Linked DNA regions of Homo sapiens: regions 2, 3, 4, 5, 6 and 7 are each linked to region 1. The links are contacts of gene promoters, found by promoter capture Hi-C in human tissues and cell types (Jung and others, 2019). All regions are on one chromosome and are shown on one strand. The core of a region is centred on a gene start or on the middle of the fragment in contact, and the rest is flanking DNA. Distances in the headings are between cores, read along the strand shown. Region 1 holds the start of ENDOV (endonuclease V). Region 2 holds the start of TBC1D16 (TBC1 domain family member 16). Region 3 overlaps RPTOR (regulatory associated protein of MTOR complex 1). Region 4 overlaps CCDC40 (coiled-coil domain 40 molecular ruler complex subunit). Region 5 overlaps RPTOR (regulatory associated protein of MTOR complex 1). Region 6 holds the start of GAA (alpha glucosidase). Region 7 overlaps RPTOR (regulatory associated protein of MTOR complex 1).

Region 1 (3,916 bases), core at 880-3,379:
CTGAGTGAGATTCTCAGAGAGGGAGAATAAGGGAGACCACCCCTCATATTGTTTTACGCCCAATTTCTGCCTCCAAAGAGAGAAGTAAAAACTAAAAGGCAGAAATGAAATCCACAAGCAGACAGCCTGCACCACACCCTGGGCCTGGTAGTTAAAGATCGACGCCTGACCTAATCAGTGATGCTATCTATAGATTACAGACGTTATATAGAAAAGCACCGTGAAAATCCCTGTCCTGTTCTGTTCCGTTCTAATTACGGGTGCATGCAGCCCCCAGTCACGTACCCCCTGCTTGCTCAATCAATCACGACCCTCTCACGCAGACCCCTGAAGAGTTGTGAGCCCTTAAAAGGGACAGGAATTGCTCACTCGGGGAGCTCGGTTGTTGGAGACGTGAGTCTTGCCGAAGCTCCCAGCTGAATAAAGCCCTTCTTTAACTCGGTGTCTGAGGGGTTTTGTCTGCGGCTTGTCCTGCTACACTCTGGTGGGAAAGACACCGCAGCAGGGGAGCAGGGTGCGCAGGGTGCAGTGGGTGACGCTCATTCGCTGAAAACTGACCCTGCTTTCAAAGCCTTGTCAGTTCCCAAAGCTGTATGAAGCCTTTCCTGAGCCTCAACCTCTAGAGTCTAATTTCATCCTCTGTATTTTCCCCTTTGTTAGTCCAAACTGCGTCATTTTGTAAGCCCCTTTCCATTTTGTAGACCTTGGTCAAAGTGAAACATTCCACGGGGGTTCGAGCCATGAGAAACAGCCTGCCTCTTAACATATTCTGCTGGGACAAAGCGCCAGGAACACCACATTCTGCCGGAACCACCTCATCCTGGGAACACGTTAACATCTTCCCGGACAGCAAGCCATACTGCCTAGATCCCTCCTGCCCAGGCCTATGAGTACCCCAGCCTGTAATCGCTGGTGGGCTCTGGCATTAAGCTGGCCCCCGACAGGTGTTTGCAATACACCTGTGTTGCTGTAGAGCCGCCCGCGCGCCGGCAATCTCACTGTGCGTCATTCTTTAACCTTCACCTTCCCTTCAAAACCTAACACCCTTGACGTTTATATTCAGGCTATTATATATACATACACACATACACCCTTCTGAATCCTCCCAGGAGAATATAAAACCATGGGTTAAACTGCTACACTTCAGCTTCAGTGGCTGCCTTTCAGTGCTTCAAATACACCAACCTCTTTCCCACCCCGGGACCTGCACGAGAAAGCTGCTCCACTCACCCGCCGTGCTCTTTCACTCACCCTTCAGGTGTCTTCAATATCGCCTCTCAGGCCTTTCCCAACCACCGGTTTAAAGTCGGCTCCCCACAAATAAATACATATTCTCCCTCACAGTACTTCGCACAACACCTGGCACAGCGAGAGCACTGAACCAACACTCATTCAATGAGGAACACGAGGTAAGAACCAAGACCCCCCAAGGTCGCCGTACTTTGTCTGGTAGGAGAAGCTTTCTGCCCAGCAAGGTCCGACCCAGATGAAACCCCGTCCAAGTCTGCAGCACCCCCGTGAGTCCAGCCCGCTAAACTGTGAAGAATTTAAATACACGACACCTGCCCTCAAAAGCTTGAGGGCACCCCTGAGCTGCCATCGAGGTGGGGGCGTCAACGACAGGCGCTCAGTAAGTGCTCCTGAGGCAACTGCCGGGCTGTCCTGGACCTGGTGAATCCTTTCGGGGTTCAGCAAAGGCGGACGCTGACCGGGCCAAGGAGTGGGACCTGCAGTGCTGGACCACCCTTTTCCAAGCGCAGAAGTGCCGTGCCCGCCGGCTCTCAACAGGGCAAGAGGCCCCTCTCGCCGTGCAGAGCGCAGCGCTTGCGGCGGGGACAGCAGAGGCGGGACGGGCGTCACGGAGTTCCCGGGTCCTCGCGCGGTCACTTACCTGGCCTCAGCTATCCGCTGAAAAAGGGGCGGACGGCCTCCCGGGATCCGAGCCGATATCGCGCGCGGCGCCGCGGGGCAACCTGAAGCCGTGTGCGTGCGTGTGCGTTCACGCAGGGGCTCACCCAGCGGCCACGGGCTTCTGAAGACCCGGGTGGGAAGTGCGGCCCGGGAAAGCGCAAGCGTCTCCATGGCAACGAGGGCGGACGGCGTCAGAGCGAGTCGCTTCCGGAAGTGACGTGCGGAAGGGGTGCCCGGGACGAAGCCATGGCCCTGGAGGCGGCGGGAGGGCCGCCGGAGGAAACGCTGTCACTGTGGAAACGGTAATGCTGTCAGGCGACGCGCAGGAGGCGGGGGCCGAGGCCGGGCGGCCCTTCGCGGACCCTCCGAGCTCATAGTCTTCAGGCTGTGGAATCGGAGCTGCCACCGCCCGAGACTCCAAAGCAAAGCCCAGTTTCCGGCGCGGAAGCGGAGGGATCTCAGGAATTGTAGTCCGCGGGGTGGGCGCGGTTCTCGCTTCCGGCCAGTTTGTCTGGCCTGCGCTTGCGCGGGTCTCCGCCGCCTGGGCTCCTAGGGACTGTGGCCTCGGCGGTATGTCCCTTGCTTTCCCTTGAAGCGGGAGAAGACCCGGCAGAGGCGCTCTGTCCGCTGCAGCCGCGCGGGTGGAGGAGGCAGAGTCTGAGGTGTGACCCCGACCAAGTTTGACGCTTCTGTCCTCCTAGGGAGCAAGCTCGGCTGAAGGCCCACGTCGTAGACCGGGACACCGAGGCGTGGCAGCGAGACCCCGCCTTCTCGGGTCTGCAGAGGGTCGGGGGCGTTGACGTGTCCTTCGTGAAAGGGGACAGTGTCCGCGCTTGTGCTTCCCTGGTGGTGCTCAGCTTCCCTGAGCTCGAGGTAACCTGGGAGGACGCCGAGCTCGAGGCGGGCCCCTCGGTGGGCTCGGGCGTGCGGTCTCCGGGACAGGGAGCAGTGCAAGCGTAGAACCCGGCTTCTCGTTTTGTAGGATGTCATTAATAGTCTGGGGAGTTGGCCGGGCGCGGTGGCTCACGCCTGCAATCCCAGCACTTTGGGAGGCTGAGGCGGGGGAATCACCTGAGGTCGGGAGTTCGAGACCAGCCTGACCAACATGGAGAAACCCGGTCTCTACTAAAAATACAAAATTAGACGGGTGTGGTGGCATATACCTGTAATCCCAGCTACTCGGAAGGCTGAGGCGGGAGAATCGCTTGAACCCGGGAGGCGGAGGTTGCGGTGAGCCAACATCACGCCATTGCACTCCAGCCTCGGCAACAAGAGCGAAACTCCATCTCAAAAAAAAAAAAAAAAAAAAAAAGTCTGGGGAGTCTTGGAAGGGAAAAAAAGGCAAAAATTAAGGGAATTCTGTGACTATTAAGAATCAGCTCATGAGCTTTATCTTCAAGTCTGATTGTTATCTTGGGTTCTTCATCTCAGTGACCTGTCCACCACGCTCCCAGTTGCCCAAGCTGGAGATCTGCATCCTCCTGGGCCCCTCCGTTCCTCTCGCGTCCAGTTGCACACTAGCTCGCTTTTATTCTGCCTCTTAAATGTCGCTGGAATCTGTCCCCTTGTCTGTTTCCCCTCTGCTCCTTCCCTGGCTGTGCCACCATCACTCCTGTGGGTTCCTGAGCAGCATTTTCATGGGTGCCCTGGCTCAAATGTTCCTCCTCAGTGGTTTCTTTTCCATACTGCCAGCAGACCAATTTTCCTAAAAAGCAAGTATTTTCCTCAAAAGCAACAAGTCCCCTCCCTCCCTCCCTCCCTCCCTTCCTTCCTTCCTTCCTTCCTCCCTTCCTTCCTCTCTCTGTCTCTCTTTCCTTCCTTTCCCCTTCCCCCACTCTGTGCCCAGGCTGAAGTGCAGTGGCATAATCTTGGCTCACTGTCAAGATCTGATCTCAACCTCCTGGACTCAAGTGATCCTCCCACCTTAGCCTGAGTAGCTAGGACCACAGGTGTGAGCCACTACACCCGGCTTATTTTTTTATTTTTTGTAGAGACAGGATCTCAC
Region 2 (3,849 bases), core at 232-2,731, 380 kb before region 1:
GGGGTTTCACCATATTGGCCAGGCTGGTCTCGAACTCCTGACCTCAGGTGATCCGCTCGCCTCGTCCTCCCAAAGTGCTGGGATTACAGCCGTGAGCCACGGCGCCCAGCCATAAAAACTTTCGCCATAAAAACTTTCGTTAGCCATAGTCTCACCATAAACATGCCACTTACAAAAAAATATGCGCACAATAACCACGCTCAGGATGCAAACAACATCCATTAATGAACTTTGTAGTTAATACCAAAAGTTACTCCTCACTTTATTCTTTATTTACAAAAGCTTTCATGGTTCTTAAAAGTGTTTAGTATTCACCAATTTTACTGTTAGCGTTTCTAATGAGGATTTTCTAAAACTGAGGCATGGATTTGAAAAAGTGTTCTGATCAATCAGTAACAGATTTGGAATGGAATCTCCAGCCCCCAGTCTTTGCGCCCACCCTCTGGCAATATGCCGCCTCACGTGAGCATCTTTAAGACGGAGTTCCCTTTTTATTCCAGATAAAAGAATTAGGAGCCTTCTGGTAGAAAAGAAAGCAGATCTTCAGGATCAAGTCGCAGAGGCTGGCCAATCAGCCCAGCTTCTCATTTGAACTTGACCCAGACAGTAAAACAAACTTTACCATAAGGCGAGACTAACTTTTGTTATGTCTTTTCTATTCATTTCCTATTTCTGAATCAAATCTGAACTACTTTGTGGCCAATATACGACACCAGCTTCCGAGTGTGGGAATCACAGGATTTCAGGATTCAGCGGCTTCCGGCAGGATCCCCTAGGTTATGTTTAGCAATCTTCAGTTGCCTTTCCTTTTTTTCTTTCCTTCCTTTCGTTCTTTCTTTCTTTTTCTTTTTTTTTTTTTCCCAAAGGAAAGAACAAGGGAGCCCAGGCGGAACGGAAGTGAGTATCCCGACACGCGGATCTTAAACAGCCCAGACCACCAAGCCCGACAGGCCGGGAAAGCTGAGCGCGCGCTGCTGGGGGGACGCACACTTTGGAGGCTGTGTGGGCGCGCGCCGGCACCCCACAAGTTCTCATCCGTCTGCTCCGCCGATTCAGCCAGACAAAGACCGCAAGTTCCCCGGTCCACCGCTCCAGACAGGCGGGGACCAGTCTCCCCGAATTAGGCCCATTCCGGGCCCGGGCGCCCTCACTCGCCGCGGGGAAAAGTCCCCAGGTGCCCCTCCGTGATCCAGGTCCTCCCACAACGCTCCCGCTCCTGCTGGCGCCCCGCACCCCGAGGACGGCGGCCGGACCCCGGCCCCTCCCCGGTCCCGCGGCTGCAGGCCCACGCGCCCCACGCGCCCCGCGCGCCCCCGCCCCAGCTCCGCCGAGGGGGCGCTGCTCGCTGCGCGGTGGACCCCTCGGACCCCGCCCCCGCGGCCCCGTCCGGGCCCCGATACCCACCCGGGTCCCGCTGCGGGGGCCGGATTCGCGCCGGCTCCGAGAGCCGCCACCGTCGCCTCCGCCGCTGCCGCCGCCAGTGAGGCGCGGCGGGGCGGGGACGCGCGGGGAGGCCCGGCCCCCGGCCCGCCCCCGGGCCCGCCCCCGGCCCGGCCCCTGCCTGCCCCCGCCGGTCTCCCCGCCCACCTTCTGGCCCAGCCCTGGGCCCAAGCCTCTAGTTCCCTGCTGGCCCTCCCTCAGGCCTCGCCGCGTCCCGGCCTCGGGGACTGTGCCCCGTCCCGAGCCTGGCGTCCCCAAAGGAAAGGCAGGGCTCCTCGGACGCTCCGCGTGCGCGCTGGCCCTCCGCTGCCGCCCTCTGCAGGGAGATTTCTCCTATTTCGGACTAGGAAGGGAAGATACGCTCCGGAAGACCCCCCGGGCGTCCATGCAAGGAGTCTCCGTAGGACCCCTGGAGAAGGGCACCGGAGCCCCCTAGGGCAGGAGATGGAAAAGCGCTCGCCATGCGCGGGGTCCCCGGCCCCCGGTGCCCCCAGCCCGCCTGCCATTCCCGGGCGCTTAGCAGTCCGGGGTCCCCAGGTGCCCGGCAGGTCCCTTCGGGACCTCGAGCCGCCCGCTGGGCACACGCTGACGCCGCTGTCGCTTTACAGAAATTGAGCGCAGCCGAGGCGGGACCCGGGCGCAGAGAGCGATAAAGGAAAAGCATGGTCGTGCTCTAATCATTACAGTCTAAGGGACGACACGTCGAGACGGCGCGCGCCTCTGCGTGCGTGGAGATGGCACAAAGGCCGCGCCGCCCCCGGCGGCCCCCGCCCTCGCAGCGCGCGTGGTCCCGGCCCGGCCGGATGTTGACAGCGTCGCCTAGCAACGGGAAATGGCGGAACCGGGCGGCGCGGCGGGCCGGTAAGCCGGGCCGAGGGGCAGCGGGTCTTGGAGTCGCCAGGCCGCGCTCTCCGTTCACCGCTCCAGGTGGCCCCCGCGTCGGCTCCTGCCTCGCCCCTTCGCCTCCACTCCCCCTTCCTCTCGCCTGTGTCCCTTCTCTCGCCATTTTGCTGGCCTTTCCCGTCCACTGCGTTCAGCCCCTCACCCCCCCGCCAACCCTTCTCACTTCTCCCCTCCTGTCCCTTTGTCCTCTCTCGGCCTCCCTCTTTCCCCTACTCCAAGCGCGCGACTCCCTCTAAAACCCGGGACCGCTCACTCTGCAGTCACCATGGCAACCACTCTGCGTGGCGGTCCCTGCGCGCAGTCCTCCTAAGAGTAGAGGGCTCTGCAGGGCGCGGGGCTGTTGGATACCGCCCCTGACCTTGCTCCGGGGCCACTCGCTGTGGCCGGAGACCAGCCCGGCCCCGCGCCTCCCTCCTGCAAGGACAGATCCCCTCTCGCAGGCTTGGGGGTGACCCGCGATGGGAGGGGTCCCTGCGGTTAGGCGGCCCGCGATAGTCCGCGGTCACCGTCCTGGGGCCTGGGTGGAAGCACTGAGCGCGCACAGGGAGGGCGGCTGAGTGAAGATCCCTGCCACCGGGCCTCTGCTCGCTTAGGCTCTGTTTAAAAGGATAGAAACGATTGGAAAGAGTTTGGCCTTTTTACCTTAGACACATCGGTATTGTTTCATTTTTTTAAAGGTGGGTCTGTATGTATTGACATGGAAAGACTAAAGGTATTATTAATAAAACGATAGGCATAAATGTAAAAGGGTAGGTATACTATGATCTCTAATTCAGGGTGTGTGTGTGTGTTTAAAACATAGAAAAATGTTGAAAGAATGTGGTCCTAAATGTTATCAATGATTATCTTGGGAAGGAAAGGGAAGATCACAGGGAACTGTCACTGTCTGTCTCTTTGAACATATCTATATTCCTTTGACAGATAAAAATAGCTTGAATCTTTAATTTTTTAAAAAAGATATACATATATATATATATATATATATATTCCTGTGCTACGTAAATCGTGGAGAAACTCAGAGTCCCCAGAACACTTACTCTGATCGCGCTACTTTCTCTACGTTGTATTTCTTTTCCCCAGTTTTGTCCCAGACACAAGTTATATTTGAGGTGACTTTTCTGGGGTGATCTAATCCTGCTGTTCCTTCGATGTTTTAATAATTATATTTTTCATTCATTCATGGAGCTTTGCTTTTGTGGCATCTCCGCCACCTGACAGGCATGATATAGTGCTATGGTTCCTGACAAACAGGACAAAGACGTGACAACAGCCTGGGGGTGGCAGAGAAGTAACAAGTAAATAAACAGATGTGCAGAATTCAGGAGGGGATAAGGACCAAGAAAAAGAAAGCTGTTGCTTGAAACTGTTCAATTGTTTCTCTAAAACCAGGTCCCATCCGGAAGATGGATCGGCTTCTGAGGGAGAGAAGGAAGGGAATAATGAAAGCCACATGGTAAAATTCCCTATGGGCAGTTATTCCGGGCTTATATTTACTAGGAATTAAAG
Region 3 (3,638 bases), core at 279-2,778, 330 kb after region 1:
GGAGGCCGTGGCGGGAGGGCCTGTTGGGTGGATGGGGGGGCTGCGGTGTGTGTTTGGAGGCCGTGGCGGGAGGGCCTGTTGGGTGGATGGGGGGGCTGCGGTGTGTGTTTGGAGGCCGTGGCGGGAGGGCCTGTTGGGTGGATGGGGGGGCTGCGGTGTGTGTTTGGAGGCCGTGGCGGGAGGGCCTGTTGGGTGGATGGGGGGGCTGCGGTGTGTGTTTGGAAGCCTTGGCGGGAGGGCCTGTTGGATGGAGGGACTGCGGTGTGTGTTTAGAGGCCATGGCGGGAGGACCTGTTGGGTGGATGGAGGGGCTGCGGTGTGTGTTTGGAGGCCGTGGCGGGAGGACCTGTTGGATGGAGGGACTGTGGTGTGTGTTTAGAGGCCGTGGCGAGAGGACCTGTTGGGTGGATGGAGGGACTGCGGTGTGTGTTTAGAGGCTGTGGCGGGAGGACCTGTTGGGTGGATGGAGGGGCTGCGGTGTGTGTTTGGAGGCCGTGGCGGGAGGACCTGTTGGGTGGATGGAGGGGCTGCGGTGTGTGTTTAGAGGCCGTGGCGGGAGGACCTGTTGGGTGGATGGAGGGGCTGCGGTGTGTGTTTGGAGGCCGTGGCGGGAGGACCTGTTGGGTGGATGGAGGGGCTGCGGTGTGTGTTTGGAGGCCGTGGCGGGAGGGCCTGTTGGGTGGATGGAGGGGCTGCGGTGTGTGTTTGGAGGCCGTGGCGGGAGGGCCTGTTGGGTGGATGGAGGGGCTGCGGTGTGTGTTTGGAGGCCGTGGCGGGAGGACCTGTTGGATGGAGGGACTGCGGTGTGTGTTTAGAGGCCGTGGCAAGAGGACCTGTTGGGTGGATGGAGGGGCTGCGGTGTGTGTTTGGAGGCCGTGGCGGGAGGGCCTGTTGGGTGGATGGAGGGGCTGCGGTGTGTGTTTGGAGGCCGTGGCGGGAGGACCTGTTGGATGGAGGGACTGCGGTGTGAGTTTAGAGGCCGTGGCAGGAGGACCTGTTGGGTGGATGGAGGGGCTGCGGTGTGTGTTTGGAGGCTGTGGCGGGAGGGCCTGTTGGGTGGATGGAGGGGCTGCGGTGTGTGTTTGGAGGCCGTGGCGGGAGGACCTGTTGGATGGAGGGACTGCGGTGTGTGTTTAGACGCCGTGGCGGGAGGACCTGTTGGGTGGATGGAGGGGCTGCGGGGTGTGTTTAGAGGCCGTGGCGGGAGGACCTGTTGGGTGGATGGAGGGGCTGCGGTGTGTGTTTGGAGGCCGTGGCGGGAGGACCTGTTGGGTGGATGGAGGGGCTGCGGTGTGTGTTTGGAGGCTGTGGCGGGAGGACCTGTTGGGTGGATGGAGGGGCTGCGGTGTGTGTTTGGAGGCTGTGGCGGGAGAGCCTGCTGCTCAGTTCTCAGGACTGGTTAGAAAGTAAATTTAACGTAGGAGCAACTTAACAAAAAGAAAAGCTTTTCATTTTGGGGGCTTTTTTTGTTTGTCTTTAGAGATGGCTTTGCTCTGTCACCCAGGCTGGAGTGCAGTGGTGCCACCACAGCTCACTGCCACCTTGAACTCCTGAGCCCAAGGGATCCTCCCACCTCGGCCTCCTGAGTAGCTGGGACTGCAGGCATGCACCACTACACCAGGCTGATTTTAAACAACTTTTTGTAGAGACAGGGGTCTTGCCATATTGCCCAGGCTGGTCTCAAACTCCAGAGCTCAAGCAATCCTCACACCTCAGCCTCTTGAGAAGCCAGGACTACAGGCATGCACCACCACACCTGGCTAATTAAAAAAAAATTTTGGAGTGATGGGGTCTTTCCATCTTGCCCAGGCTGATCTTGAACTCCTGGGTTCAAGTGATCCTCCCACCTCAGCCTCCCAAAGTGCTGGTATTACAGATGTGAGCCACCACACCTGGTTATATAAAAAGAAAACCTAAAACTAGTAAACCACACTGATATTTTTTGCTATATTTCTGCTATATACATGTCCTTTTGAAAAGGAAAATAGGAATATTGAACTTAGTTTTTGCGTAAAGGGCCATTTCCTCCCACTTAAAGTTGTTTCCTTTTTAATCCTCTGCCAGCCATTCTTACGTGGCCAGTGGTAGTGGTGCTGATTAAAATAACACAAGTCTGCCAGCAGTCCCAGACAGACATCGCAAATGGCGCCTTCCACAGTTCAGGACTGTGTGCTTCACTCCACGGAGGTCTGCCTCAGATGCCTCCCTCCCAGCCCCTTTCCGGAGGCCAGGGAGAGTGCGTTTCCACCAAGCGCAGGAGTCAGCACTTCCTCATAGCCTTCCCGTGCCCTCCCAGCACCAGGCACACATGGCCGCTCCCACCTATCCCATCCACCTGTTGTGACGCGGGTCTGAGTAGCTGCAGGTCCACGTCGTTCCTGGACCCATCATCTGGCTTAGTGGGCCTGTCACAGCAGACCTGGAAACTAATTTTCTGTGTACAGCAGGTTGCATTGCCGATGCTATTTTAGCTTATGGAGCCCAGAGCCCAGGAAATGGTTTTAAACATGATTTTGCCTTCCCTCTTCCCTCTTGTTTAAAAAAACCCACTCCTTGGTGGTTCTTGGTGATTGTTGCGTGGCATGTAAATATCCCTAATGTCACCGAACTGTACATTTGAAACAGTTAACATGGCAAATTTTATGCTACAGGTAATTTATCATCATAAAAAAAACCTCATTCCTCTAGAAATTGCAGTTTTTATTGAAAAAGTTAAATTATATTTATTATTAAGTATATGAGAATTTGATTTGTACTCTGGGTTTAATGTTCCTGTGGTAGAATGGGTTATTAATAAAACTAGCAGTCATTAGTACCTTCCAGCTGAGAAATTTGAGATGTTAAAAACAAAGTTTGTCAGAGTCAGATGACAGTGCGTTCTGTACCATCACCGTGGTGCGAGGTGGCTGTGAGTGAATACAGCTCTGTGTGTATTTCATTCCGAAAGCACTGGGCGTGCTGTCTGGAGAGGGCTCGGCAGCTTTCGTGTTGGCGTCGTAGGTGCTTGGTGGAGATTCAGAAGGACCCAGATGGGATAATGGGGCAAAAGCAGCCCTAAAATCAGGGGCAGTGCCCGGCACTCTGGACGCATGTGCTGGCCCAGCTGCAGGGCAGTCCGTGTCATCTTTGGGGACTCTGTGTCCTCGTCGTCACAGCTCTTTTAACATGGAGCTGAAACCTCATGGGGTTGGTAAAAAGCAGATGAAATAGTATATGTGAAGAGCCGTGAGAAATACTAAGAACTACGCAACTAAAAGTAAGGAGCAAGGAAGGAGCAAAAATGCAGACACAGACACATTCTCTCCCCGTCAAGCCGGGGAGCGCATCGCAGCCCTCGGTGATTAAAAGCCACACACTCTGGACACATCTCACCCCCACCCATATTCATCGTCACTTACAATATTCATTTACAATAGCGCCTCCTCTTCATGGAGGCCTGCCACAGTCTGAGTAAACAAAAGTGATCTTGTCCCTGTGGTATTCACAAAACAAGCCCTAGGAATTGTGTAAGTCACAAACAGCGTCCAGGCCCTGGATCTGGGACGACCAGTCTCTGTCATGCGATGCTCCAGCCCTCATGCTGACCGCTTGGTCCACGACCCCGCATTAGCAGGTGGCGCTCTCAGTCTGAAGCCTCA
Region 4 (4,011 bases), core at 1,489-3,988, 340 kb before region 1:
ATACGCAGGGAAATGGGTCACTTTCACTTTCAGAAAACAAAGCCTGGACCGCACTTAACTTGGAGGCAGATAACCTAATCAGAATTCACACACGCCTGGGACTTGGAGCCAAAAGCACCCGTGCTCTTACCTGCCTTTGTCCTATTTCCTGGCGGGAAATACAGAGGGCAGACAGGTCTTGGCCCGCAGCCACAGCCCCTTTACCCCAAGATGTGACTCGGTCAGCCACACGGCCTCACAGCCTCCTCCCAGGCCCTCAGCTGTGGCCACGGCAGCCAGGCAGGCCGACCCAAGGACAAAAGCCACGGGCAGTGTCCTGGGAGAGAACCCGGCCTTGACCACAGGCTGCTGGACACCTCCTGTGTCCCCCCCTTAATCCTCAGAGGCACGGTGCCCAATGCCTGGGCCATATTCCAGATTCCATCCGTTCTTTTTGTTTCATTTACAGACAGTCCCCGACGTCACGATTTTTGGACTTTACCATGGTATTAAAGCAACAGGCAGGCAACAGAAACTGGGCTTTGAGTCCCACACAACCTCCCTGGTTTTCAGCACGGTATTCAATAAATTACATGGATGCCCCACACTTTATTATCAAACAGGCTTCGTGTGAGATGATTTTGCCCACCTGTAGGCTCATGGGAGTGTCCTGAGCACGTTTGAGGGAGGCTGGGCTGAGCCGGGGTGCCTGGCAGGAAATCTGCAGGAAGTGCATTTTGGGTTTTTCAGCTTTTTTTTTTTTTTTTTTTTTTGAGATGAAGTTTCACTCTTGTCGCCCAGGCTGGAGTGCAATGGTGCGATCTCAGCTCACTGCAACCTCCACCTCCTGGGTTCAAGTGATTCTCCTGCCTCAGCCTCTCAGGTAGCTGGGATTACAGACATGCACCACCACCATGCCCGGCTGATTTTGTATTTTTAAAAGAGACGGGGTTTCACCATGTTGGCCAGGCTGGTCTTGAACTCCTGGCCTCAGGTGATCTGCCCCCACTTGGCCTCTGAAAGTGCTGGGAATTACAGGCGTGAGCCACGGCACCAGCCTGCATTTTGGACTTAGGATATTTTCAACTTACGATGGGTTTGCCGGGCTGCATCCCCACCGTAAGCTGAGGAGAACCTGTACTTTCTATTGGTGCCTGCTGATCTACGGAGTTTTTAAAGTACGATTTAAAAAAATAATAATCCTTATCAAGGATAAGTGATTGCGTTACAGGACATTTGAAAAACAGAGAAAAGGATTTAAAAATACCATCGACTTTCTCTTTTTGTGACAAGAAGACTCATTAGCATGTCAGCACACTCTCAGGCACACATTTCCCCGAGTGTTAGGAGTTCTGTTGCACAGTTTGTAACTGTATCTTTTTAAATTGGGCATCTTATTTTTATTGTCAAATTTAGACATTTATAAGGCTGCTCCTTCCTAAAAAAAGAAAATGAGTAACTTATTTACTTGAAGTCAGGATGACTGGGGATAATTTATGTACAAAATTGCATACCTCCAGCCCTGGCAACCGCTGTGCCGCCTTCTGTGCCTATAGCTCTGCCATTTCTAGAATGTCATATAAATGGAATCGCGCAGTCTGTAGCTTTTCTTGTCTGGCTTCTTCCACTTGGCATCATGCTTTTGAGACCCACCCATGTTGCAAGATCAGTAGTCTGTTCCTTTTTATTGTTGAATAGTATTCCCTTGCACGGATACATCAGATGTATTTGTCCATCCACCAACTGATGGACATTTGGCTTTTACCTTTGGAATACCGTGAAGAAAGCTGCTGTGGCTGTCCTGAAAAGATCTTTGCATGGAGACGTGTTTCCGTTTCTCCCGGGTAAATACAGGCGCATCTCGTTTCAGTGTGCCTCGCTTTCTCCTACTGCGTGGAATCGCTTTTGTTTGTTTGTTTGTTTGTTTGTTTGTTTGTTTTTGAGATGAGTTTCACTCTGTCACCCAGGCTGGAGTGCAGTGGGGCGATCTTGGCTCACTGCAACCTCCACCTCCCGGGTTCAAGCAATTCTCCTGCTTCAGCCTCCAGAGTAGCTGGGATTACAGGCACATGCCACCATGCCCTGCTAATTTTTTGTATTTTTTAGTAGAGACGGGGTTTCACTGTGTTAGCCAGGATGATCTCGATCTCCTGACCTCATGATCCACCCGCCTCAGCCTCCCAAAGTGCTGGGATTACAGGAATCGCATTTTTTACAAATTGAAGGTTGACGGCAGCTCCGTGTGGAGCAAGTCCACCGGCACCATCTCTCCAGCGGTGCGTGCTCACTTCCTGCCTCTGCACCACATGTTGGTCGTTCTCATAATATTTCAAACTTTTTCATTGTCATCGTCCGTTATGGTGATCTGTGATGAGTGACCTTTGATGTTAACTATTGTAATTGGTTTTTGGCAAAGCCACGAACTGCCCTTGTTTAAGACAGCAAACTGAATCAAGACATGTCGTGTGTGTACTGACTGCTCGCCGGCTGGCGTTCTTCCATTTCTGTCCCTCTCCTTGGGCCTCCCTATTCTCCAAGACTCAACAGTATTGAAATTAGGCCTACAATGGCCACTAAGTGCTCAAGTGAAAGGAAGAGTCTCATGCCTCTCACTTTATTTTTATTTTATTTATTTATTTTTGAGACACTCTGTCCCCCAGGCTGGAGGGCAGTGGCACGATCTTGGCTCATTGCAACCTCTACCTCCCGGGTTCAAGCGATTCTCCTGCCCCAGCCTCCCGAGTGGCTGAGATTGCAGGTGCCTGCCACCGTGCCCGGCTAATTTTTGTATGTTAGTAGAGACAGGGTTTCACCATGTTGGTCTCGAACTCCTGACGTCAAATGATCTGCCTGCCTCGGCCTCCCAAAGTGCCGGGATTACAAGTGTGAGCCAACGCTCCTGGCCGCCTCTCACTTTAAATCAAAAGTTAGAAATGATTAAGCTTCATGAGGAAGGCATGTCAAAAGCTGAGATAAGCCAAAAGCTAGGCCTCTTGCACCAAAGGGATAGCCAAGTTGTGAACACAAAGGAAAAGTTTTTGAAGAAAATTTAAAGTGCTGCTCTAATGAACACACAAAAGAAAGGGAAGCAGCCTAATTGCGCGTCTGGAGAAAGTTCAGGTGGTATGGACAGAAGATCAAACCTTCCGGCCGGGCGCGGTGGCTCACGCCTGTAATCCCAGCACTTTGGAAGGCCCAGGCAGGCGGATCACGAGGTCAGGAGATCAAGACCATCCTGGCTAACACGGTGAAACCCCGTCTCTACTAAAAATACAAAAAGTTATCCAGGCATGGCGGCAGGTGCTGAGGCAGGAGAATCACTTGAACCCAGGAGGCGGAGGTTGCAGTGAGCCGAGATCGCGCCACTGCACTCCAGCCTGGGCAACAGAGCGAGACTCTGTCTCAAAAAAGAGAATGCACCTGGTGGGCATGCTAGCTCAAGTAATCTCAGCACTTTGGGAGGGCAAGGTGAGAGAATTGCTTGAGGCCAGGAGTTCTAGACCAGCCTGGGCAACATAGCAAGAGCCTGTCTCTAAAACCGAAAAAAGGAAAGAAAGAAAATGTACCTGGTCACCCAAGAGTTTTGATGGAGCTGGAGCTGTGCAAGATGAATGTTGTTTCCACACCTGTAACACAGCATTTATTCTGCAACCCATGGGTTGAGGAGTAATTTCAACTTTCAAGTCTTACTATTGCAGTAATACAGTCTGTAAAGCTATAGCTGTCATAGATAGTGATTACTCTGATGGATCTGAGCAAAGTAAGTTGAAAACCTTCTGGAACAGACTCACCATTCTAGATAACGTTAAGGATATTCGTGATTCATGAGAGGAGGTCAAAATATTACTCTTGGTTTTTTTGAGGTGGAGTCTTGCTCTGTTGCCCGGGCTGGAGTGCTATGGTACGATCTTGGCTCACTGCAGCCTCTGCCTCCCGGATTCCAGTAATTCTCTTGCCTCAGACTTCTGAGTAGCTAGGATTACAGGTCCTTACCACCACACCTGGCTAATTTTTTATATTTTTAGTAGAGAT
Region 5 (3,662 bases), core at 923-3,422, 290 kb after region 1:
TGATGGGGAGCAAGAGGTGCTATGCACGGTACCCTGGTGCAGTGATGGGGAGCTAGAGGTGCTGTGCACGGTACCCTGGTGCAGTGATGGGGAGCTAGAGGTGCTGTGCACGGTGCCCTGGTGCAGTGATGGGGAGCTAGAGGTGCTGTGCACAGTACCCTGGTGCAGTGATGGGGAGCTAGAGGTGCTGTGCACGGTACCCTGGTGCAGTGATGGGGAGCTAGAGGTGCTGTGCACGGTGCCCTGGTGCAGTGATGGGGAGCTAGAGGTGCTGTGCACGGTGCCCTGGTGCAGTGATGGGGAGCTAGAGGTGCTGTGCACGGTGCCCTGGTGCAGTGATGGGGAGCAAGAGGTGCTGTGCACGGTACCCTGGTGCAGTGATGGGGAGCTAGAGGTGCTGTGCACGGTACCCTGGTACAGTGATGGGGAGCTAGAGGTGCTACGCACAGTACCCTGGTGCAGTGATGGGGAGCTAGAGGTGCTATGCAGCCTTTGGCATGGCTTCCTATCCAGTGTCTGGAAGAGCATCCAAGAAGGATGCTTTCAACATGATAAAAGACAAGGGACATTTAACATGATACTTGAAGAATGAATAGAAAATGACCAGGCAAGACTTGGAATAGGACATGGAGAAAAGGTAGGAAGAAGGTTCTGGGCAGAAGGCTGGAAAGTAGGTTAGAACATAATGAGGCAAAAGGCTTAAAAGATCCTTTCTTGTGGCTGAAGTGTAGACTCTCAGAGATTATGTCTAGTGATCAGGCTGGAGATCTTGCAGGGACTCGTAGGTCTTTCTAAAGAGTTTTCAAAGTTAGTGGGAAGACATCAAAGGTTTCTAAGCGGGAGAAGGACCTATTGAGTTTTGGAGAATGGATTTGGAGTGAAACAAGGCTGGAGGATAAGTTGGGAAGTTACTCCAATGATCTAAGAAATAGATAAGTGGTGGTGGTGATGGTGGTAGTGGTGGTGATGGTGGTGGTGGTGATGGTGATGGTGGTGGTTATGATGGTGGTGGTGGTGATGGTGGTGGTGGTGGTGGTGGTGATGATGGTGGTGGTGATGGTAGAGATGATGGTGATGGTGATGGTGGTGGTGGTGGTGGTGATGATGATGGTGGTGGTGATGGTAGAGATGATGGTGATGGTGATGATGGAAGTGGTGGTGATGGTGATGATGGTGATGGTGGTGGTGGTGGCGGCGATGATGGTGGTGGTGATGGTAGAGATGATGGTGATGGTGATGATGGAGGTGGTGGTGATGGTGATGGTGGTGGTGATGGTGGTGGTGGTGGTGGTGATGATGGTGGTGGTGGTGGTGGTGATGATGGTGATGGTGATGGTAGAGATGATGATGGTGGTGGTGGTGATGATGATGGTGGTGATGGTGATGGTGGTGGTGGTGGTGATGGTAGAGATGATGGTGGTGGTAGTGGTGGTTTGGTAGTGGCTTGACCTGGGTATTGATAGCACGGATAGAAAGAGGTGGATGGACTCAGTCAGGATTGAAGAGGTAGACTCAACAGGATGCAATGATTGATGACATAAAAATGGAAAGGGTGAAAGACAAGAAGGTGTCAAGGGTGATTCTTGGGTTTCTGTTGTCCAGCTGGGTGATTCTCAGGTTTCTGTTGTCCAAATGGTTAGTGACCCCATCCATATGGATTGAGGAGAGAGGGGAGCAAGCTTAGGAGGGAAGACACAGAAGATGTGCACTGGACAATTCCTCTCTGCTGAAAGGCCTCAGACACACTGATGGATTGCTTCACATCTGGGAACAAATGCTGTGAAGTCTCTGTGTCCTCAGCGGCTCCACCTGGTTGCACTAGGGTGGAATCATGGGAAAGGGCACAGGTTATATATTCTTGCCATTTATTCTCACGGAGACCATAATGCTCATTCCATATCAACCGAAAGGTAGCATTTGCCATCACTCTTTTTGGCTTTTGTTTTGTTTCTCTGTATTTTACTTGTTTTTCATCCTAACACCCTTAAGGGTGAGGGTAAACAAGGGCTATAGGAGGCGAGGCCTTCCAGGGAAATGCCGGGCAGGGAAGAAGGTCAGGTCCGCCTAAAGGTCCCTCCTACCAACATTTCCCTGGAAATCTTTGCATCCTACTTGAGAAGGAGAGGGGTAGGGTGAAACTTTCACTAGACCCCAGATGGGGCCAGAACTGGCCTGAGTCCTGAAATGACATTTGTTCCTCCAGGACAGTTCTGAGAGTGTTGCAGGCATTTCGGTTTGTTGGATCTAAACTTGACCTGCTATTCATTGCTATAGGATGGGAGGATGGCAGCGATATCACTTGTACTCACAGACCCAGCCTAGTACGACGCCAGTGTCTTTGTTAGAAACTCTACAGATGTCTATGTCCAGCCTGCCCCAGCGGCACAGGGCTACCCCTGGTGGGATTTTGTCAAAGGGGAAGACCCACCAAGTAGAGCCCCTGAGCCCCTCCTCTTCCCAGGTGGCCGTCTCTCCTTGATCCACACCAGCGGCAGTTTGTGCAGCTTCACCAGAGCTTCTAGCGGGACCATGCCGCCACGAGGGCCACTGGGAGCAGAGTCCCTCCCATGCTCAGGGCTCTCCAGGGTCTGAAGTCTGCACTTGTATGAGAAGGAGCTCCAATACCAATAAAAGTCTACGTGGAAAATGCAGAATCTGATTGCAGTAGCATTTCTTAGGCCTTATTAGCATATAAATTTACCAGGTGTCATTTTAGGACAAGAGCCCGTCACTGAGAAGGAAATGAAATTTGGAGCTGCATTTTCCTTCATTAAACCAAGGGCCCATTTTTGTTTTGTTTTGTTTTTTGTTTTGTTTTCTTTTCTTCGGTTATTCATTCTTTTATTATCTTCTGCTGTCACATCCTCCAAAACTCCTGTGCATATATTTTCTTGCACCTTGAGATTTGGCATTTCAGGAAAAATGCCTAGCACAATAGGCTGTAGTTTAGAGACTTGCTTTGTCATTTTATATGTCCAGCAGAAATTGTCGTAACTCCCCCGGATGATCAGATGCTCCCGTGCCTCTCCTGTCTCTCAGACCACACAGCTATTATCCCTGGCATTCTAGTTGTGAGACAAAACCTTAACACAATGTGGTGACATTTAATTTAGTGTTTCTCATTTCAAAGCCCTTAAAAATATTAATTAATTCCCATGAAGCCCCAGGAGGCGTATTATTAATATCTGTGGCGCCTTTCATGCTAGTCCATTAATGTGCCTTCTCTACGCAATAGGTAAGAAAATGAAGCTAAATCCGTTTTTCGCAGCCCCATGGGATAAGACCTTCACAGAGCCAGGGTCAGAAATGATGAATCCTTAATTTTATTGGTGTCCCTGAATAATCTACCCCGTGGCCTTCTGTGTGGCGTGGAAGAACAGCACTCCTGTTCAGGAGCAATCTCAGGAGACAGCGAATGATTTTCCTGTGGAGCTGTGACTTCAGCAATCCTAGTTCGATAGCTGTGTTGAGGAGAGTAGAATTGAGAAAAACTGCCGCAGCAGTAATGTAATAAGTGAGATGGAGCAGGAGGCACTTGACAATTTCACTAGAAAATCTCCCAGCGATCTGTGGGCCCTGCAGTGAACCCAGCCCCTGCAGATCGATGGGCCCGTGCTCCAGGGAGACAGATGTGGAGATCAGCACCGTGGCTTGTTCTTATT
Region 6 (3,005 bases), core at 506-3,005, 310 kb before region 1:
TGTGTTTGTCATGAGGGACTTGGAATCTTTTGTGTTCCTAAAAACCACATGTACCCTCAGAAGGGCATCGTTTAAGAGAAATAAGCCAGCCCCACCCATAGGAATCTTTTTAGCCACTCAGCAATTTAATAAACCAGGTAAAATCCTAGCGTTTCCCATGGCATCCCATCGCAAAGACAGAGCCTGTGACTGCAGACCCACACACCCACACTCCCACACTGGGCTTACTCGTCCAGGTAACACTTTGGTTTGCAGCACTCCCAAATCTGCACGTGCCTCTCACAACACAACGCTGCCACAGGTCCACAAGCTGGTGGGCTGAGCAGAGGTGGGAAAGTTAAGGCAGCTCCAGCCAGCCTGGCCCGGGAGGCTGGTCCCCCCAGCACTTCCCTCTACTAGGTGCATCTGAAAACCCACAAACCACCTTCTTTACCAGTTTTCCCATCCCCACCCCTTAGAACTCTCAGGTCCCTTTTCCTGCCCCCATGTCCCCATTTGAGTTAAATTCAGATCCACAGCTTGCAGGAGAAAGTCAGTGGCCCCAGACACACGTAACAGGGTGAGCACTGAAATAAGAGCACGCTGGGGCGTCCACACCAAGGGACTACGCCCCAGTCTGCCCACCTATCTTTTCTCCATCATTAACCCAGCGCTCTTTCTCCCTGGACTTCCAAGTACCAATGACCTTGGGGCTTCTTTGCAGTTTAAAGGGAAAATGCTCTACAAAATAATTTCACTTTCAAACATTTCAGCAGAAGAATAAAATCTTTTTTCTGAATATCTAGTAAGCCTTTCTGAGTCAGCCTTACTTATTTTAAAACATTGTAGAAATACAGAAACCACAACAGAGGTGGAAGGGAGGCTTTTGTTTTTTTTTTTTTGAGACGGAGTCTCGCTCTGTCGCCCAGGCTGGAGTGCAGTGGCGCGGTCTCGGCTCGCTGCAAGCTGGAAAGGGGGCTTTTAATGCCCCTATGCCCCTACCCAGGAACAACACCTCTGTGTTTTGGTGTGGCTCCTTTTGTATTTTTCTGCACATACATTTTATTAGGCAAGTTAAGGTTATACTGTGTGTTTTTTGTATCTCACATGTAAAAATGTGCTCCTCTTAATGTAAGCATTTTCTCATTTTATGAAAAAATTCCCCCTGTGTCAGTTTAATGTTTTCTCAATTGTCAGTTTTATGGGTTATCACAATGTTTTGATTATTCCTTTCTGGAATAACTGTGAGTTATGGAGCACACTTAAGGACTTTCCAAATGTTGGCTGTTTCTAACTTGGCGCTGAGCGCCTTTGGCCGCCTTTCCGATGATGCCCTCGGGACGCGTTGGCAGGAGGAATCCCTGGGCGCAAGGCGCGGCTGGGCCAGCCCCTTACAAAGCCCTACGAGCTGCGGGGACCCAGGCCGGGGCAGCGGGGGCCACGCCCCATCTCCGACCCCACGGGGACCGGGCCGGGACTGCGCCAGCGGGGGCCTCGCCCCGTCTCTGACCCCAGAGGAACCGGCAGCGGGCAGCACGCGTGGGCCTCTCCCCGCGGGACGCCGGACGCGCAGCCAGACGCGCTCCCCAGGCCCCCTCCGAGAGCGAGGACGCGCCCAGGCCCGCTCTGCCGGAGCCGCCACTGGGGGGCGTAGCGCGGACGCGCACCCTTGCCTCGGGCGCCTGCGCGGGAGGCCGCGTCACGTGACCCACCGCGGCCCCGCCCCGCGACGAGCTCCCGCCGGTCACGTGACCCGCCTCTGCGCGCCCCCGGGCACGACCCCGGAGTCTCCGCGGGCGGCCAGGGCGCGCGTGCGCGGAGGTGAGCCGGGCCGGGGCTGCGGGGCTTCCCTGAGCGCGGGCCGGGTCGGTGGGGCGGTCGGCTGCCCGCGCGGCCTCTCAGTTGGGAAAGCTGAGGTTGTCGCCGGGGCCGCGGGTGGAGGTCGGGGATGAGGCAGCAGGTAGGACAGTGACCTCGGTGACGCGAAGGACCCCGGCCACCTCTAGGTTCTCCTCGTCCGCCCGTTGTTCAGCGAGGGAGGCTCTGCGCGTGCCGCAGCTGACGGGGAAACTGAGGCACGGAGCGGGTGAGACACCTGACGTCTGCCCCGCGCTGCCGGCGGTAACATCCCAGAAGCGGGTTTGAACGTGCCTAGCCGTGCCCCCAGCCTCTTCCCCTGAGCGGAGCTTGAGCCCCAGACCTCTAGTCCTCCCGGTCTTTATCTGAGTTCAGCTTAGAGATGAACGGGGAGCCGCCCTCCTGTGCTGGGCTTGGGGCTGGAGGCTGCATCTTCCCGTTTCTAGGGTTTCCTTTCCCCTTTTGATCGACGCAGTGCTCAGTCCTGGCCGGGACCCGAGCCACCTCTCCTGCTCCTGCAGGACGCACATGGCTGGGTCTGAATCCCTGGGGTGAGGAGCACCGTGGCCTGAGAGGGGGCCCCTGGGCCAGCTCTGAAATCTGAATGTCTCAATCACAAAGACCCCCTTAGGCCAGGCCAGGGGTGACTGTCTCTGGTCTTTGTCCCTGGTTGCTGGCACATAGCACCCGAAACCCTTGGAAACCGAGTGATGAGAGAGCCTTTTGCTCATGAGGTGACTGATGACCGGGGACACCAGGTGGCTTCAGGATGGAAGCAGATGGCCAGAAAGACCAAGGCCTGATGACGGGTTGGGATGGAAAAGGGGTGAGGGGCTGGAGATTGAGTGAATCACCAGTGGCTTAGTCAACCATGCCTGCACAATGGAACCCCGTAAGAAACCACAGGGATCAGAGGGCTTCCCGCCGGGTTGTGGAACACACCAAGGCACTGGAGGGTGGTGCGAGCAGAGAGCACAGCATCACTGCCCCCACCTCACACCAGGCCCTACGCATCTCTTCCATACGGCTGTCTGAGTTTTATCCTTTGTAATAAACCAGCAACTGTAAGAAACGCACTTTCCTGAGTTCTGTGACCCTGAAGAGGGAGTCCTGGGAACCTCTGAATTTATAACTAGTTGATCGAAAGTACAAGTGACAACCTGGGATTT
Region 7 (3,884 bases), core at 349-2,848, 420 kb after region 1:
CAGTTGAGAGTTCATGTTGGATGTTGTGGCGGGGCCACAGCAGCTGCCTCCGACTGACCCCTGCTTTGTGTCAGCCGCTCTACGAGGACGCTGTGAGGGAGGCATGATCATAAGCCCATTTCACAGATGGTGAAACGGATCCTAGAGAGAGAGCCACGCGCCCAGAGCCCCAGAGCCACACGCTGAATTTCACCAAGCAGCCTCCCACACGGGCTCCCTGGTCAGGCCCTCATCCTCCGGGCGAGGCAGCGAGGCAGGCAGGTCAGCCGCTCCCTGGGCCGGAGCTAGTGGGTAGCAGAGCTGGGAGCAGAGCCCAGGCTCATGGCTCCCGGTCAGATCTTTTCTTCCCTCTCTCCTTCTCGAAAGTCACACGGGGCTGCTCATGCACAGAGGGTGCTTTCCTGCTCGCCCTCACTCTCATTTAGCCAATGCATATTGAAAGCCTGCTATGTGCCTGGCACTGGGAAAGAAGTTGGGTACGGCTGGATGCCAGGGCACCTGCAGGATGTCTGTAATTCAGCGTGTGGCTCTGCGGCCTTGGGCGCGTGGCTGTCTCTCTAGGGTGAAACAGTCTCATGATCATGTCTCCCTCACAGTGTCCTTGTAGAGCAGCTGACACAAAGCAGGGGTCGGTCAGAGGCAGCTGCTGTCCCTCTGCCACAGGGCTAGAGATGTCAGAGGTGCTGGGGTGTGCCAGGCCTGGGGTACCACGAGAAGGCCAGAGCCACAGAAAGGCTTAGGGGGGCTGTGTTAGAGCCTCCGAGAAAGCTCACAGGGCAGCTGGCCTGGAGGGAGGTGCCGGCAGAGGGGCCCATTGGGAGGGGGCTGTTAGGACAACACCGAGGCTCTGACAAGGCCATGTCAGGAAAGTGGCGATGGTGGCTGGGGGTGCCCCATAAGGCTGTTGCCTACACCTGGGAATCCCAGGAACTGGCCTGGAGGTGTGAGGTCCAATTCAGACTGCCGGCTGTTCCTACAGTAGAATTGGGGTGTGGAGCTCTGGGGAGAGGTGTGAGGCTATTTTAAATAGCGTCTGGGGGTGTCGGTGAGCAGGTGGCATTGGGCGCCCTGAGCAAGGATGAGAGCAGGCAGGGAAAGGGCTGTGGAAGCTGCAGCAGTGCGGCCCTGAAGGACGGGGTCGGGAGCCCGGGGAGGAGGCTGTCTCACGTTCACCGTGACGGGAAGGAGGCCGGAGGAGAAAGCCTCATAATGTCCAAGGGGGAGAACTCAAGAGGGACAGTGTGGTCGGTTACTGTGACAAGGGGTCTCGACAGGGGAAGCACATCACCGGGGTCATCTGTGGAGCCACTGTGGCTTGGGGGGAGCAGCTCTATGCATGGTAGGAGACCCCAGACTGCAGGGTGCCTGGTGAGACCCACAGGGAGGCAGCAGGAACTGACTGAGCAGGTGGCTGTCCACACCAGGGAGCAGCAGGGGGGAGGCAAGGGAGGGACAGGGAGGGGCCTGACGGCACCATCACAGCGCAGAGCTCAGCCCTGACCGCCAGGACTCCTTTCCCTGACTGCATGCCGACCCCTCCTGATGAGGCACTTTGGGCCTGGCCCTGGTGTCTCTCCCGCGTCCCTCCAGGACGCTGCCCCATCAGAGCCTGCGCAGGGACCACAGCTGCTTAGAACACGTGGGCTGCCAGTACATGGGTTCAAGTCACAGTCAGAAGCCACAGCAGAAAATGGGAAGCATTCCTTTATTTTTCCAGGCTTTTTTTCTTATTTTATTTTAAAGAGAAAAAATGTGACAAAATGGTGAGGATGCTGGCAGCGCCAGCGTTCCCGGCCTGCACTCTCTCCTGGCCTCCCCTCGGACGTCTTCTGCAGCCCAAATCTGAACAGCAGTGAAACCGTAAACATGCCCCCCACCAGCTGCCGTGGCCTCCGCCCAGACCCTTGCTGCCCAGGCTCAGCCGGCTCCTCCTGTGCCCTGTGAAGTGGCCTCGTGTGGAAGCCCGTCCATAATGCTCAGTGGATTTCCTCTGTTCTCTCCGCAGGCAAGCCTGGGACCTGGCTGTTGACATCTGTCTGTCTCAGCTGCCGACGATCATCGAGGAAGGCACTGCGTTTCGGGTGAGTCCCTCCAAGGGCACCCTGTGCATCCGCGGCGGCAGCCACTTCTCTGGGCACCTGGACTGCAAAGCCCCCAGACTGGGGGTGGTGCCCAGGACTCTCGGGTGTCAGATTTTGTTCACCTGCCTGGAAAAAATGTAGTTGCCAGAGTTTAAAACATCGAGTCAACCAGGGTTTAAAGTTAAACTTTGAAAGAATCAACTTTTAAAACAGTCCTATCTCAAAATTTTGCTATTACAGATCTACTTTTCTTAATGCGGACTCACTCCCTGTGAGTGGTGATCCTGTTACACTTTCTAGCCTTTTCACCACAGACGCGTTGTGGATCTCCCCCAGGCCTCTGACTCTCAGCCCTGTGGGACAGTGACCCACGGGGGGTTTGGTGCTGAACCCTGGAGGGCGTTCTGCCCCCGGCCGCACTGCACGGGCGCTGGAGAGCTGAGCCACCCTACGGCGGAACCTGGGTTTAGTCGCCGCACCTGCAAGTGAGGGTGGCCCCGGGCCTTCGCGGCAGCTCCCTAGGACCCCCTCGTGGTTTCTTAATGAGCTTTTGCCTTACGTGAGGCGCCAAGTCTGAAAATAGATAAATAAGACGGAGGCCCTGCCCTCCAGAAACCCGTGAGGAAAGAGGAGCCTCTCACATCTGTGCAGAATGCAAGGGAGCAATCGGCAAGAGGGCGCGGCAGACACGGGGAGGCCAGGGATGGGGGAGGCGGCAGCCTGGGCAGAGGCAGGAGGGGACCAGCATCCCCGCCTCCCGTTGGGGCCACACCTGAGACACCACCGTGTCAGGCTCCAGAGCCACAGAGCCTAGCTTTGCCACCGAGGGCAAGTTTGGTCGTCTCCTCATTTAAGGGAGGGATTATGGTGGTATCCAACCCCAGGGGTGCTGGAAGGACAAAGGGAGTTAATGTAAGAAAAGTGCTTTGGACAGAGCCCAGCACAGGGCCCTTGGGAATTCATGTGCAGGCACTGCCCCAGAGCCAGCTGTCACTGATGTGAGGATGCCACCCTCCAGCCCAGGGCAGGGGCACCGATGGTCAGGAAGGTTCCGTCCACTGCACAGACTTTTAACTTTCAGTGCACACCACAGCCGTCAGGGAAGCTTTTAACACATGCAGTCGGGAGCCTGGGTGTGCCTGCGTGCGTGCGTGTGTACGCGTGAGTGGGTGTGCATGAGGTGTGTGTGATGTGCCTGTGTGGGGTGTTTTAACTCCTCAGATGATTTTGACATGTCCCACGGGTGGGATGACTGGGAAAACGGCCTTTTAAGAGGGCTTTCTTTTTTATAATCTTCTGTTACCCTCCCATTATTGCTTGATTTTTTTGGTAACATTTGATTGTGAAAATTTTCAAACCTACAGCAAAGTTGGAAGAAATTTACAGTGAGCACCCCATGCCCACCACTTACTTCTACCCCATCTTTGTATTCATGGGGTATTTTCAAGGGCATTGCAGACCGCCCCGCATTTTACACCGTGAGGCGGAAGCCAGCTCCCCGTCATGTGCTTGGCATCAACACTGGGCTTCTAGACAAAGGCCTTCCCTCCCTTCCTGCTGGACCACAAACCTTGGGGGGCAATGACAGGGTCTCCTGCAGAGTGGCAAACCTTCACAGACGCCAGCTGTCCACCCTCAGCCTGCCAGAGCTGCTTTCAGAGTGCCTGCGCTTTTCCGAAGAGCTCTGGGCCTGTTGCCGCAAACAGATATTTGGAAACCTTCGGGAAACTGGCCTTTCTGTACTCTGAGCGTGGCTTCACTCGGTACTTTTAAGAGATCAGAATAATCTGCTCTTATATAAAA

The links. The method cuts DNA at HindIII sites, captures the fragments that hold promoters and counts their contacts. A contact is called where the count stands out against the background at its distance.
Region 2: a contact is called between the fragment with the promoter of TBC1D16 here and the fragment with the promoter of ENDOV in region 1, in 1 of the 25 tissues and cell types used here (adrenal gland).
Region 3: a fragment that was not itself captured here is called in contact with the fragment with the promoter of ENDOV in region 1 in 1 of the 25 tissues and cell types used here (dorsolateral prefrontal cortex).
Region 4: a contact is called between a fragment that was not itself captured here and the fragment with the promoter of ENDOV in region 1, in 4 of the 25 tissues and cell types used here (adrenal gland, dorsolateral prefrontal cortex, hippocampus and 1 more).
Region 5: a fragment that was not itself captured here is called in contact with the fragment with the promoter of ENDOV in region 1 in 2 of the 25 tissues and cell types used here (IMR-90 fibroblasts and lymphoblastoid cells).
Region 6: a contact is called between the fragment with the promoter of GAA here and the fragment with the promoter of ENDOV in region 1, in 2 of the 25 tissues and cell types used here (adrenal gland and mesenchymal stem cells).
Region 7: a fragment that was not itself captured here is called in contact with the fragment with the promoter of ENDOV in region 1 in 2 of the 25 tissues and cell types used here (dorsolateral prefrontal cortex and lymphoblastoid cells).

What each region holds. Positions count from the first base shown.
Region 1 is chr17:80,413,038-80,416,953 of GRCh38, forward strand. It overlaps ENDOV (endonuclease V), which reads left to right and starts at 2,130. Exons shown (of 10, transcript NM_173627.5): 1 at 2,130-2,213; 2 at 2,613-2,784. The coding sequence starts at 2,158. RNF213-AS1 (RNF213 antisense RNA 1) reads right to left here and starts at 2,131. Exons shown (of 2, transcript NR_029376.1): 1 at 1,892-2,131. RefSeq lists an enhancer at 2,563-2,652. The HindIII fragment of the contact is 5,195 bases long and covers 672-3,916 here.
Region 2 is chr17:80,034,391-80,038,239 of GRCh38, forward strand. TBC1D16 (TBC1 domain family member 16) reads right to left here and starts at 1,482. Exons shown (of 12, transcript NM_019020.4): 1 at 1,405-1,482. CCDC40 (coiled-coil domain 40 molecular ruler complex subunit) reads left to right here and starts at 2,252. Exons shown (of 20, transcript NM_017950.4): 1 at 2,252-2,301; 2 at 3,733-3,796. The coding sequence starts at 2,273. RefSeq lists a silencer at 1,481-1,550 and enhancers at 1,741-1,860, 2,760-3,054. The HindIII fragment of the contact is 13,824 bases long and covers 1-3,849 here.
Region 3 is chr17:80,748,254-80,751,891 of GRCh38, forward strand. All of the region lies in intron 5 of RPTOR (regulatory associated protein of MTOR complex 1), which reads left to right. Among named protein-coding and RNA genes, the nearest start is that of RPTOR, 210 kb to the left of the region's middle. RefSeq lists enhancers at 38-539, 540-1,039. The HindIII fragment of the contact is 4,968 bases long and covers 1-3,638 here.
Region 4 is chr17:80,071,102-80,075,112 of GRCh38, forward strand. The region is part of intron 10 of CCDC40 (coiled-coil domain 40 molecular ruler complex subunit); the gene reads left to right. It overlaps LOC124904074 (a long non-coding RNA gene), which reads right to left and starts at 435. Exons shown (of 2, transcript XR_007065931.1): 1 at 131-435. The HindIII fragment of the contact is 9,664 bases long and covers 1-4,011 here.
Region 5 is chr17:80,699,437-80,703,098 of GRCh38, forward strand. All of the region lies in intron 3 of RPTOR (regulatory associated protein of MTOR complex 1), which reads left to right. Among named protein-coding and RNA genes, the nearest start is that of RPTOR, 160 kb to the left of the region's middle. The HindIII fragment of the contact is 8,995 bases long and covers 1-3,662 here.
Region 6 is chr17:80,099,826-80,102,830 of GRCh38, forward strand. GAA (alpha glucosidase) reads left to right here and starts at 1,756. Exons shown (of 20, transcript NM_000152.5): 1 at 1,756-2,065. CCDC40 (coiled-coil domain 40 molecular ruler complex subunit) reads left to right here. Exons shown (of 20, transcript NM_017950.4): 20 at 1-788. RefSeq lists a silencer at 1,303-1,922 and an enhancer at 2,253-2,362. The HindIII fragment of the contact is 18,678 bases long and covers 1-3,005 here.
Region 7 is chr17:80,835,917-80,839,800 of GRCh38, forward strand. It overlaps RPTOR (regulatory associated protein of MTOR complex 1), which reads left to right. Exons shown (of 34, transcript NM_020761.3): 10 at 2,006-2,081. Among named protein-coding and RNA genes, the nearest start is that of CHMP6, 150 kb to the right of the region's middle. The HindIII fragment of the contact is 7,748 bases long and covers 1-3,884 here.